2 separate regions of the Homo sapiens genome follow, and region 1 is linked to region 2. Evidence: promoter capture Hi-C in human tissues and cell types (Jung and others, 2019). All regions are on one chromosome and are shown on one strand. The core of a region is centred on a gene start or on the middle of the fragment in contact, and the rest is flanking DNA. Distances in the headings are between cores, read along the strand shown. Region 1 overlaps PHLPP2 (PH domain and leucine rich repeat protein phosphatase 2). Region 2 holds the start of MARVELD3 (MARVEL domain containing 3).

Region 1 (5,571 bases), core at 2,883-5,382, 37 kb before region 2:
GTTTTATGAGGCAGTAACTCATAGTTGAAATAACTGTTAAATCCTTAAAGAGGTTTCTGTGTTGTAAACAATTTCAGACAGGTTGAGAAGATTCAGGCTTTCATCTCTGAAAATGAATATAGTTATGATATTTAAAGAGAAATTACAACATTCTGCTGTGGCTTCTTTGGGCAATTTTGAGCTTTTGCATTGGAGAGAAAAGGACGTACCACTAAAGTTAATTTGGTTTTTGCTCCTAGCTTTACCAAACCGCCTTTGAATTACAGTCTTTATGTGCAAACCTTTTTGTGTACTTTTTGAAAACTGTATTTACAGATAATGTCCTTCCAGAAGGTGTCATTTGCCTTCTCACTATAAATTAACAAATAGATGACATGTCTTCCTATTTTAGGCCTGTAATCAGGTTTACCTAATGTGTACATCACCTTTAAGTGAAAACTAGTTTTGTGGAGTTTATTTGTTTTTTGTGGGGTTTGTTTTGTTTGTTTTTTGCTTTTAGAGACATGGTTTCACTCTGTCACTCAGGCTGGAGTGCAGTGGTGCAATCATAGCTCACTGCAGCCTTGACCTCCTGGGTCCAAGTGATCCTTCCTCCTCAGCCTACTAAGTAGTTGGGACCACAGGGATGCACCACCACACCTGGCTAATTTTATTTTTTGTAGAGACACAGTTTCACCGTTTTGTTCAGGCTGGTCTCAAACTCCTGGACTCAAGTGATCTGCCTGTCTTGGCCTCTCAAAGTGTTGGGATTAACAGGCATGAGCCACTGCACCCAACCTGACAACTAGTTTTTTTCTTTTTCTTTTCTTTTTTTTTAATACGGAATGGTTCACAAATTTGCCTGTCATCCTTGCTCAGGGTCCATGCTAATCTTCTCTATATCGTTCCAATTTTAGTACATGTGCTGCCAAAGCAAGCACTGAAAACTAGTTTTTATTATATTTTTCTACAACGTGGAGAAAGCAATATTGTCTTCAATTTAGAAATGGAGAAAACAGAGGTGAGCAGAAGTAAATGAATAGGAGACGTAAAAAACTGTTTAGCCCACAGTTGTCTGGCTTGTTCTCTCTTTAGCAGCTTATACATCTCTTAATGTATAATACAGTTGATTGGATAGTCTTCAAAATAAAATCTTTGGAAATTCTAAAACGTATTTAAAGGAAGTTTTCTTTATGTAACATTTAATGGAGTATTGATGCAGTTGTTAATCTACAAATGTTTGTTAGCAATGCATAACGCTGCATTTGGTCCTTATGGTAGTCTGAATGAAATTAGTTTACAACCTTAGAATCTTTAGTGAGTAACTTAGCTGTAGCGAACTGTCAGTGGTATTTATTTAATACAAACTCTGGAAAGAGCTTTGTTGAGACCACAGCACAAGCAGACACACAGTACCTGCCATTAGCTTAAAAGCTAATTCGTTATGTAAAACTTATATTTCAATATAAAAAGTGAATCAGGGATTATGGATCATACAACATGAAGAAGACCTGAGAACACACAAGTTTAGTAATAATAGCTGCCTTTTATTGAGAATGTTCTGTATATACTAAACACTATGTTAGCAAATTTTAAAATTATACCATGTTTTATCTACTAGACTGGCAAAGATTAATGGATTTGTAATATTCAGTGTTGACAAAGGTGTGACAAACTGGCATTCTTAATAGTCTTCTTGTGGAAGTATAGTTTATTTTTTTTTGAAATGCAGTCTAGCTGTGTCGCCAGGCTGGAGTGCGGTGGCACGATCTCAGCTCACTGCAACCTCCGCCTCCTGGGTTCAAGCGATTTCTCCTGCCTCAGCCTCCCAAGTAGCTGGGATTACAGCCATGTGCCGCCACACTCAGCTTTTTTTTTGTATTTTTAGTAGAGATGAGGTTTCACCATGTTGGCCAGGATGTTAACCATCTCCTGACCTCGTGATCCACCCACCTTGGCCTCCCAAAGTGCTGGGATTACAGGCGTGAGCCACCTCGCCCAGCCGGAAGTATAATTTCATATACTCTTTCAAGAGCTCAGTTTGGCAATATATTAAATCTCTAAAAAATGTATATCCTTTGATCCCACAAATTCTGTTTTTAGGAATGTACCCTAAGGAAGTAATTGGTTAAGGATACAAAGATGCTCATTACAGTGTCTATAATAGCATGTGTATAGAAATGGAAACAGCCTATATGTTCTTTATTAGGGGATTATGGAATTGGCTGAATACATAATGATGCTATTAAAACCAGACAAAAAAATTTTTTTTTTCTTCTTTGAGATGGAGTCTCACTCTGTTGCCAGGCTGGAGTGCAGTGGCACGATCTCGGCTCACTGCAACCTCAGCCTCCTGGGTTCAAGCAATTCTCCTGCCTCAGCCTCCCGAGTAGCTGGGACTACAGGAGTGCACCACCACACCCAGCTAATTTTTGTATTTTTTTTTTAGTAGAGACGGGGTTTCACCATGGTGGCCAGGATGGTCTTGATCTCTTGACCTTGTAGTCTGCCCACCTCAGCCTCCCAAAGTGCTGGGATTATAGGCGTGAGCCACTGCGCCTGGCCCAGACAAAAGTTTTTCTAAATGGTGTCTTCACAGTTCAAAAACATGTGAACATGATATTCAGCAACATCCTTTCAGTAGGCAGTTTGAGAGTAAAAGATGAAGTTAGGTTAGAATCAGGCACTCCAGAAGCCTGGGAAAACAACCAGGCTTGTACTTTTTCCTCTCTACTTGGTTTGCATGAGTTGAGTAAAAGGAACTTTGGGTTGGATAGGATCAATTAGAGAAAAACTACGTGGAGATTTTTTTTTTTTTCCCATTTGGAAGCTTAGAATGGCAGCATTCCATACTGAGGTGACATGATGGTTTCTATATAGGAAGGCAGCAAATAAACTTAAAGGAGGTGATGATCTGTGTGTGTTCTGTCAGTCTCAGATACTTGAATGCATCTGCAAATAGTCTGGAGTCTTTACCATCCGCCTGCACTGGAGAGGAGAGTTTGAGTATGCTGCAGCTGCTTTATCTGACCAACAATCTCCTGACGGATCAGTGCATACCTGTCCTGGTAGGGCACCTGCACCTGCGAATCTTGCACCTTGCAAACAATCAGTTACAGACCTTTCCTGCAAGGTAAAATGAATGCAAACTTTGATCATTTCAAATACACAACATTAATTCTATATTTGTCAGAAAAAATATAGCCATCTGACTATGACTCTTTGTTTACGTTCACTGACTTACAGATGCTATGATTTCACTAGTTGAGTGGCAAAATCTCATCTTAATAGTTAGTACCCTGTTAAGTATTGGTAACCAGGAAAATTGGTTAAAATATGTTTAATTTTTAGTTGTGACTTCTTAATTATGGTCTAATAGTCAATCTAGAAAAGTACAGGCTTATGAAACAGATTCTGAAGACAATTTTTTCTTTTCTCTTGTCAGCACTGTTTTGTAAAATACTGTTATCTATTTATTCATAATACAAAAATGGAATGCTTACTATATGTCAAGTATTGTGAACAGTTACAGTCTCTGTCCTCTAGGAATGTATAGTCAAATTGGGAAAATAAACAAGTGGATGGGCAGTTGCAGTGCAGTCTAAGAAAGGCAGGGTGTTTGGCTGGGAGTGGTGGCTCACGCCTGTAATCCCAACACTTTGGGAGGCCAAGGCGGGCGGATCACAAGTTCGTGAGTTCGAGACCAGCCTGGCCCATATGGTGAAACCCCATCTCTACTAAAACTACAAAATATTAGCCGTACGTGGTGGCACATGCCTGTAATCACAGCTACTCGAGAGGCTCAGGCAGGAGAATTGCTTGAACCCAGAAGGCGGAGGTTGCAGTGAGCCAAGATTGCACCACTGCACTCCAGCCTGGGCGACAGAGTGAGACTGTGTCTCAAAAAAATAACTAAGTAAATAAAATAAATAAATAGAAAGGCAGGCTGTTAAAGACGATATGCATACATTGCCGGTCACACTGCACAGAGCCTGGGGATGGGGCTAGGCTCCCTGGAGGAAGAGATGAATAGTAGTTAGCCAGGCTATACCTATAAGAAGACATAAGAAAGATGTTTAATGCTGTGAAAGTTTGAGACAGTGTCAGTGGATAAGTAAATACCTTTCAAAGTACATTTGGTTAAAAAAAAAACAACTTTAGAACTTTTTTTTTAAGAGATGGGATCTCATTACGTTGGCCAGGCTGGTCTCAAACTCCTGGGCTGAAGTGATTCTCCTACCTCAGCCTCTCAAGTACCTGAAACTGCAGACACATGCCACCATGACCAGCTAAAACCTGGAAAATTTAACACCAGAAAAATCTATGCCATGAAGGTAGTCATTAAAAATAATATTTTCAAAAACTAAGAATGTGAGGCAATGACATTTGATATTAATAATTTTGGATGAAATTATATGTATGTAAATTATAAAATTATAATTTTTATGAACATTTACCATTTACAACATGAGATAGAGCTTCAGAAGACATACAGGAGAAACTTGATTGGAGTTCAGGTGATTCTCCTGCCTCAACCTTCCAAGGAGATGGGACTACAGGCATGCACCACCATACCCAACTTATTTATTTATTTATTTATTTGAGATGGAGTCTTGCTCTGTTGGCCAGGCTGGAGTGCTGTGGCGTGGTCTTGGCTCACTGCAACCTCTGCCTCCCAGGTTCAAGTGATTCTCCTGCCTCAGCCTCCCAAGTAGCTGGGATTATAAGCATGTGCCACCACACCTGGCTAATTTTTTGTATTTTTGTAGAGACAGGGTTTCACCATATTGGCCAGACTAGTCTCGAACTCCTGGCCTCGTGATCCGCCCACCTTGGCCCCCCAAAGTACTGGGATTACAGGTGTGAGCCACTGCGCCCGGCCCGCACCCGACTAACCTTTTACTTGTAGAGGCCGGGCGTGGCCGCTCATGCCTGTAATCCCAGCACTTTGGCAGGCCGAGGCGGGCGGATCACGAGGTCAAGAAATCAAGACCATTCTGGCCAACATGGTGAAACCCCGTCTCTACTAAAAATACAAAAATTAGCCAGGTGTGGTGGTGGGCGCCTGTAATCCCAGCCACTTGGGAGGCTGAGGCAGGAGAATCGCTTGAACCCCGGAGGCAGAGGTTGCAGTGAGCCAAGATCGTATCACTGCAACTCCAACCTGGCAACGGAGCAAGACTCCATCTCAAAAAAAACAAAACAAAACAAAACAAACTTGTGTAGGTGGGATCTCGCTGTGTTGTCCAGGCTGGTCTTGAACTCCTGGCCTCAAGTGATCATCTCACCTTAGCCTGCCAAAATGCTGGGATTATAGGTGTGAACCACTGTGCCTGGTCAGCCTCCTTGAAAGAATTAAAACAATGACTTTTTACTTTTACATTTTTTTTTAATGACTTCTAAAATGAATGCAGAATCTTAATTTCAGGGTGTGGTAGCTCTCTTGAAATTTTATCAGATTAACCTAATTGACCTCAAATATGTTCATATAAAGTGAAAATAATAGACCACTGGAAGCTGTTGGATGGTACCAGGCATAATGCTGTAAAACCTAATTTGATGACACTTTTATTGTTGGAGGGGTCAAAAGCA
Region 2 (5,423 bases), core at 2,340-4,839:
TTCCACCTGGAGTCTGAAAGCTGCAAACATGGCTGCTTGCCTTTGCAAACCCAGGGCATGTTTAAGGAGAAGCACAGGAAATCTAGCAGCACTTTTGAGACGTTCCTCCTTTTTTTTTTTTTTTTTTTTTAAGAAAACAAGAACCTCACAAGTACAGAAATGAAAATGCTAGGAACCCACAAGGGAATCTGCTTAAATTTTTGCTTCACCAGCTCAGACCATCCCTTCCAGAACCACCAGTGACAGTAAATGATCAAACAGCCTGCAAAACGGCTCACCTCTCCCAGTGCACAAGTATTTGCATTTGTGGCATTCCAGGAGTCCTTCCGCCTCTGACTGGTAATATTCCACCTCCTCTCGTCCAGGCCTGGGGGTCGAGGGCAGATATCTCTCCGAAGGGGGTTCACTATAACCAAAAAGCATACATGGTCATTAGGGGGTGTCTCATTCAATAGCGTTCAGGATTAGAACTCTTGACTCCTCGTGCTGGGCCCAAATATTAGCAGAACAGAAATAGAATTTGTCCCGGTATTTTAAACTCCAGAGAATTCTCTGGTTTAGTGGCCCCACGGGACATCCAAATACTTGGCCCAGCTCCACTAACCACGTGACAGATGCTGTGATTGGTACCGCTGATGGTTTGTCTGCCCCTGGGAGCTGTCTCACCAGGTAGCTGCGAGCTGCCTTCCTGTGAGTGCAAGTTCTCAGTTCAGCATGCACCAGGCCTCTTCAAAACCAGTTTGCATTCACATGACTCTGATGCCCAGGCAGGCATTCTCTTCCTCCCTTTGTTACTTTGGAAAGTGTTGAGTCAGCAATAACTCTCCAGGAGCATGGGAGCTGCAGACCACGGATTTTGACATCATCACATCATTTCCTCCTCTGGCAGCCCTAGCATTTTCTGTCCCTTCTCTCCTTGCTTTATGCAGCACATCCTGGGCTTTGTCCAAGATTCAACAGGGGGCTGCATTCTACTTGCCAGGCTCCCACAGTCTTTCTAGAACATCATGTCTCTCTTAGGTTTGAAATTTTTCAAACTTTTAGCATGCACAGGAGGCCCCTGTTCATCTCTCTACACTCACAACCTCATGCTCGCAGACCCAGCCATACTGAACTACCCCCTTCCCCTCAAAAGATGACTGCTTTTCCATGCCTCTGGGTTACTACAGAAGCTATTCTTCTCCTTGGGACACCTTTCCTCTTCCTCCTCAGTCTTCCTTTTTTTTTTTTTGTTTTGAGATGGAGTCTCACTCTGTCACCCAGGCTGGAGTGCAGTGTCGAGATCTCAGCTCACTGCAACCTCCGCCTCCCAGGTTCAAGCAGTCCTCCCACCTCAGCCTCCCGAGTAGCTGAGATTACAGGCGTGCGCCACCGCGCTCTGCTAATTTTTTTGTATGTTTAGTAGAGATGGGGTTTCGCAGTGTTGGCCAGGCTGGTCTCGAACTCCTTACCTCCAATGATCTGCCCGCTTCGGCCTCCCAAAGTTCTGGGATTACAGGTGTGAGCCACCGCGTCCGGCTCGGACAGTGGTTTTTAAAGAAACCTAAAAATGCAGCTCTGAATTCTCCCAGGTCCTGCAGTTGCAAGTGCAATGGGCTTTAGTCAGGGAAACAACAGCTGTTTCCCTGGGCGAAGCTTTGACTGTATCTGGGCGCACCCTTTGTTATGCTAGTTAGTTTTAGATAATGTAACATAAACTCAGGATAGGAGCTCTCCCGCTGTGTGGACATAGCAGGGAGACAGACTGGACTCAGCCTCCAAGTCCCTGGGAGAGGGGAGCCTGACTCCTCCCTAGAGGAGAGGCCAGGTGTCAAAAACCAGAAGCAGTCGTCACCTCGGACCTGTCTCCTGTTGGAGCTGGCAGGGGAGATATCCCATCTGCTCACAGTTCACCGTGTGGGGCACATTATCTGGGTATTCAATGGATGGAAAAAACACCAGGTCCCTAGGAGGCGGTGTGGGGACCAGGTCCCCTCTTGTCTTCCCTTCCCCCCCCACCCTCCCCTAGCTCACAGAGTCTTCCAGTACACCCTGAACCTTTCTCCTTACAAGGGGCCTATGGGAATTCTGTGCAAGGCAGAGATGGCAAAGTTTTTTCATTAGGAGGGTGCGGTCTCAAGCAGCCGTGGGATTCGAATGACGCTGCCTAGAGAGACCTCACTGGCAAAAGGGAAAACAAACCTGTACCCTTCAGTGGGAGAATTTTACGTAGACTTTGTTCTTTGGTTAAAAATGTAGCGTCTCCCATCTGACTTTTTTTTTTTTTTTTGAGACGGAGTCTCGCTTTGTCGCCCAGGCTGGAGTGCAGTGGTGCGATCTCGGCTCACTGCAACCTCCGCCTCCCGGGTTCAAGCGATTCTCCCTCCTCAGCCTCCCAAGTAGCTGGGATTACAGGCATCTGCCATCACGCCTGGCTAAGTTTTTGTATTTTTAGTAAAGACGGGGTTTCACCATGTTGGCCAGGCTGGTCTCGAACTCCTGGCCTCAGGTGATCCGCCCGCCTCGGCCTCCCAAAGTGTTGGGATTACAGGCATGAGCCACCGCGCCGGCCCACCTGTTTCTGAAGGCACCTATTCCTGGGAGGGGTAACACATTAAACTATTAACTCTTCATCGGGCTTCCCAAGTGGGCGGCCCGGCCACAAGGAAGGGGACTTTGGAGTCGGGAAGGGCTGGCTCTGGAACACGGGACAAGGGTCTGAACCCCAAGGCGCAGTCCTGTGACCATGCGGGCCGGGCCGGGGAGGAGCCTGGGGTGAACCCCACCCGCCTGGTCTCCTCCCACCCCTCCCTCTCGGGTCCCGGGGCCTCTCTTTCTCTTCTCCAGGTCCTCCAGCCCAGCCACTGCTCACAGGGGTGGTTTTTGCTTTGTTAGTTGGGTTCAGGCCACGAGAAGGGGGAACCCTAAAGTTTTCCTTCCCTGCCAGGTCGCCTCTGAGAGCGCAGAAGGGAGAAACGGCATTTGTTCATTTAAACGGGCTCCTAGGACGAGAACCCGGGGACGCCAGGGCCTCGCGGGCCGGCCTGGGCCACAGGTGTCCCCGGCGCGGAGGTCGCAGCGCCCCGGCCCCTCTCACCTTTCGGGTCTGCGGCGCCCGGGGTCTCCCTTCCTCTGCGGCTGCGGCGGCTCCGGGGCTTCCCAGGGCGCGGGCCCAGGAGGCGCGGCTGCGTCCCAGGTCAGTCCCCGGGCTCCGTCCCGCGTCCGGCTTTGGCGCGGTTTTTCCCAAACTCCGTGTTCACCTGCGCGAGGGCCCGCGTCCCTGTGTGTGTCCCGGCGGGGGCCTCGGTCCGGGTCTCTTTCCCTCTCTCTCTCCCTCTCCCGGTCCCGGTTCCGGTCGCGGTTCCCGTCCCTCTCCTGGTCTCTCTCCGGGTCCCGGTCCCCGTCCCTTCGCCGGTTCCCGTCGCTGCTTCGCTTCCTGCGCGGGTCCCCGGGTCGGTCCCGCGGTCGATCGTGGGTGCGGCCTTGGTCTGGGTGGGGGCGCCGTCCCGGGTCCCGCTCTCTCGGCCGGGCCCGGGGCTCGCGAGCCCCCGACGGATCTTCCATGGCCGGGTTCCGTGTCCCCGCCCGGGAGCGACCTGAGGGCAACAACCAACAAGTTTCTTGGGCAGGTGGCCAAGCCCGGGGGCGGGGCGGGCACTCACCTGTGCGCATGCGCGCTAGTCCGGGAGCTCACCTGAGAACGGGCGCCCTCAGGGGGCGGCCTGAGCGCGTCTGGGGCCCGGGCGGGAGGGGTGCCTGTGTGCTGGGTGGGGGCTGGGGTGCTGCTGCTGGAAACCCGGGCGGGGCGACCCACAGCCGCACCTTTCTGCCCCGAAGTAACCCCTTGGTGACCCCACGAGGTGGGCGGCCTAAGGGAGCCAACTGTGGCCACCTCCCCTGGCTCAACTTACACTGCAACTTGGATTTACCTTCCCAGAGGTACCCATCCTCTCACTCACTCAGCCAGACACTCATTCATTCACCCAATCACCCACTACCCGCTCATCCATTCACCCACCCATCCACCCACTCACCCACCCATCCACCCACTCACCCACCCATCCACCATCCATCCACCCATCCACCCACTCACCCACCCGTCCAACCATCCACCCATTCAACCACTCACCCATCCATACACCCGTCTATCCACCTATCCACCTACTCACCTACCCATCTAACCATCCACCCATCCATCCATCTATCCACCCACTCACCCACCCATCCACCACCCATCTACCCGCCCACTCACCTGCCCATCCGCCCACCCACCCACCCTCCATCCATCCATCCACCCATCCACCCACTCACCCACCCATCCACCCACCCATCTACCATCCGCCCACTCACCCACTCACCTGCCCATCCATCCACCCACTCACCTAACCATCCACTCTCACCCACCCATCCACCATCCATCCACCCACCCATTCACTCATCCACCCATCCACCCACCCACTCACCCACCCATCTACCAACTCACCCATCCATCCACCCATTCATCCACCCACTCACCCATCCAGCCACCCACCCACGCATCCACCCATCCACCATTCATCCACTCACCCATTCATCCATCCATCTGGCCACTAACCTACCCACACATCCACCCAGTCACCCACCTTCCACTTCTCCCTCCACCCATCCACTGTCCCTCTTTCTCCCTTCTCCTGTTTTCCTTATAACACCTATGTTGTAAGGGGCTTGCAGCCAGTTCATCTATCACAATAGTCCTGGGCTTACAAATAGCCCTGTTTTTTAAAATGGGGACTTACACAAAATTGGCAGCTTTTAATTCTGCCAAGTAAGGATATTACAAAATATATACAATTGCCATCTGGTAATTAATTCTTTCAGCAAATATGTATGAGCACCTGCTTTAGCAGGTACTGGAGATATAGTGGAAAATTTGCTTGCAGGGTGATTGCATTCTAGTGTGTCAGGAAAAGGGAAAACAGGTAGTAAACAAAGAAGACAGTGTCTAAAGTTTAATGGGAAGGGCAGGTTTCCTCATATAGACCTGGGAAGATGTCGTTTGAATTGAGTTCTGGATGACAAGAAGGCTGAGAAAATGTCCCAGAAAGAGAGAAGGTTGAGGAACGCGGGAGCTGGACAAGGAGGTCCCTGGGAGTAGAGTTGGTGGGCATGAATTGAGGCTGGAGAAGTGGACCAGGCAGATGGTGTAGACGACAGTGTGCATTTTTATTCTAAACAATGGGAGAACATTGAAGATTTTGAGGAGGAGAGTAAACCTTTCTGATTGATATTTTTGAAAGACCACTCTGGCTTCTGTGAGGAGGGTGGATGATGGAGGCCCAGAGTAGAGGGAAGAGATGAGTTACAAAGCTGCTGCTGAAGGAGTCCAGGTGAGGGTGACGGTGGCCATGGAGACAGTGACAAGTTGACAGATCCAGGTTGTAGTTTTGGGGAAGAATTTACAGTAT

The links. The method cuts DNA at HindIII sites, captures the fragments that hold promoters and counts their contacts. A contact is called where the count stands out against the background at its distance.
Region 1: a fragment that was not itself captured here is called in contact with the fragment with the promoter of MARVELD3 in region 2 in 3 of the 25 tissues and cell types used here (pancreas, spleen and stomach).

What each region holds. Positions count from the first base shown.
Region 1 is chr16:71,661,440-71,667,010 of GRCh38, reverse strand. It overlaps PHLPP2 (PH domain and leucine rich repeat protein phosphatase 2), which reads left to right. Exons shown (of 19, transcript NM_015020.3): 13 at 2,912-3,112. It also overlaps the pseudogene RNU6-208P. Among named protein-coding and RNA genes, the nearest start is that of SNORA70D, 34 kb to the left of the region's middle. The HindIII fragment of the contact is 7,294 bases long and covers 486-5,571 here.
Region 2 is chr16:71,624,350-71,629,772 of GRCh38, reverse strand. MARVELD3 (MARVEL domain containing 3) reads right to left here and starts at 3,589. Exons shown (of 3, transcript NM_052858.6): 1 at 3,077-3,589; 2 at 279-406. The coding sequence starts at 3,543. RefSeq lists a silencer at 2,719-2,768. The HindIII fragment of the contact is 11,141 bases long and covers 1-5,423 here.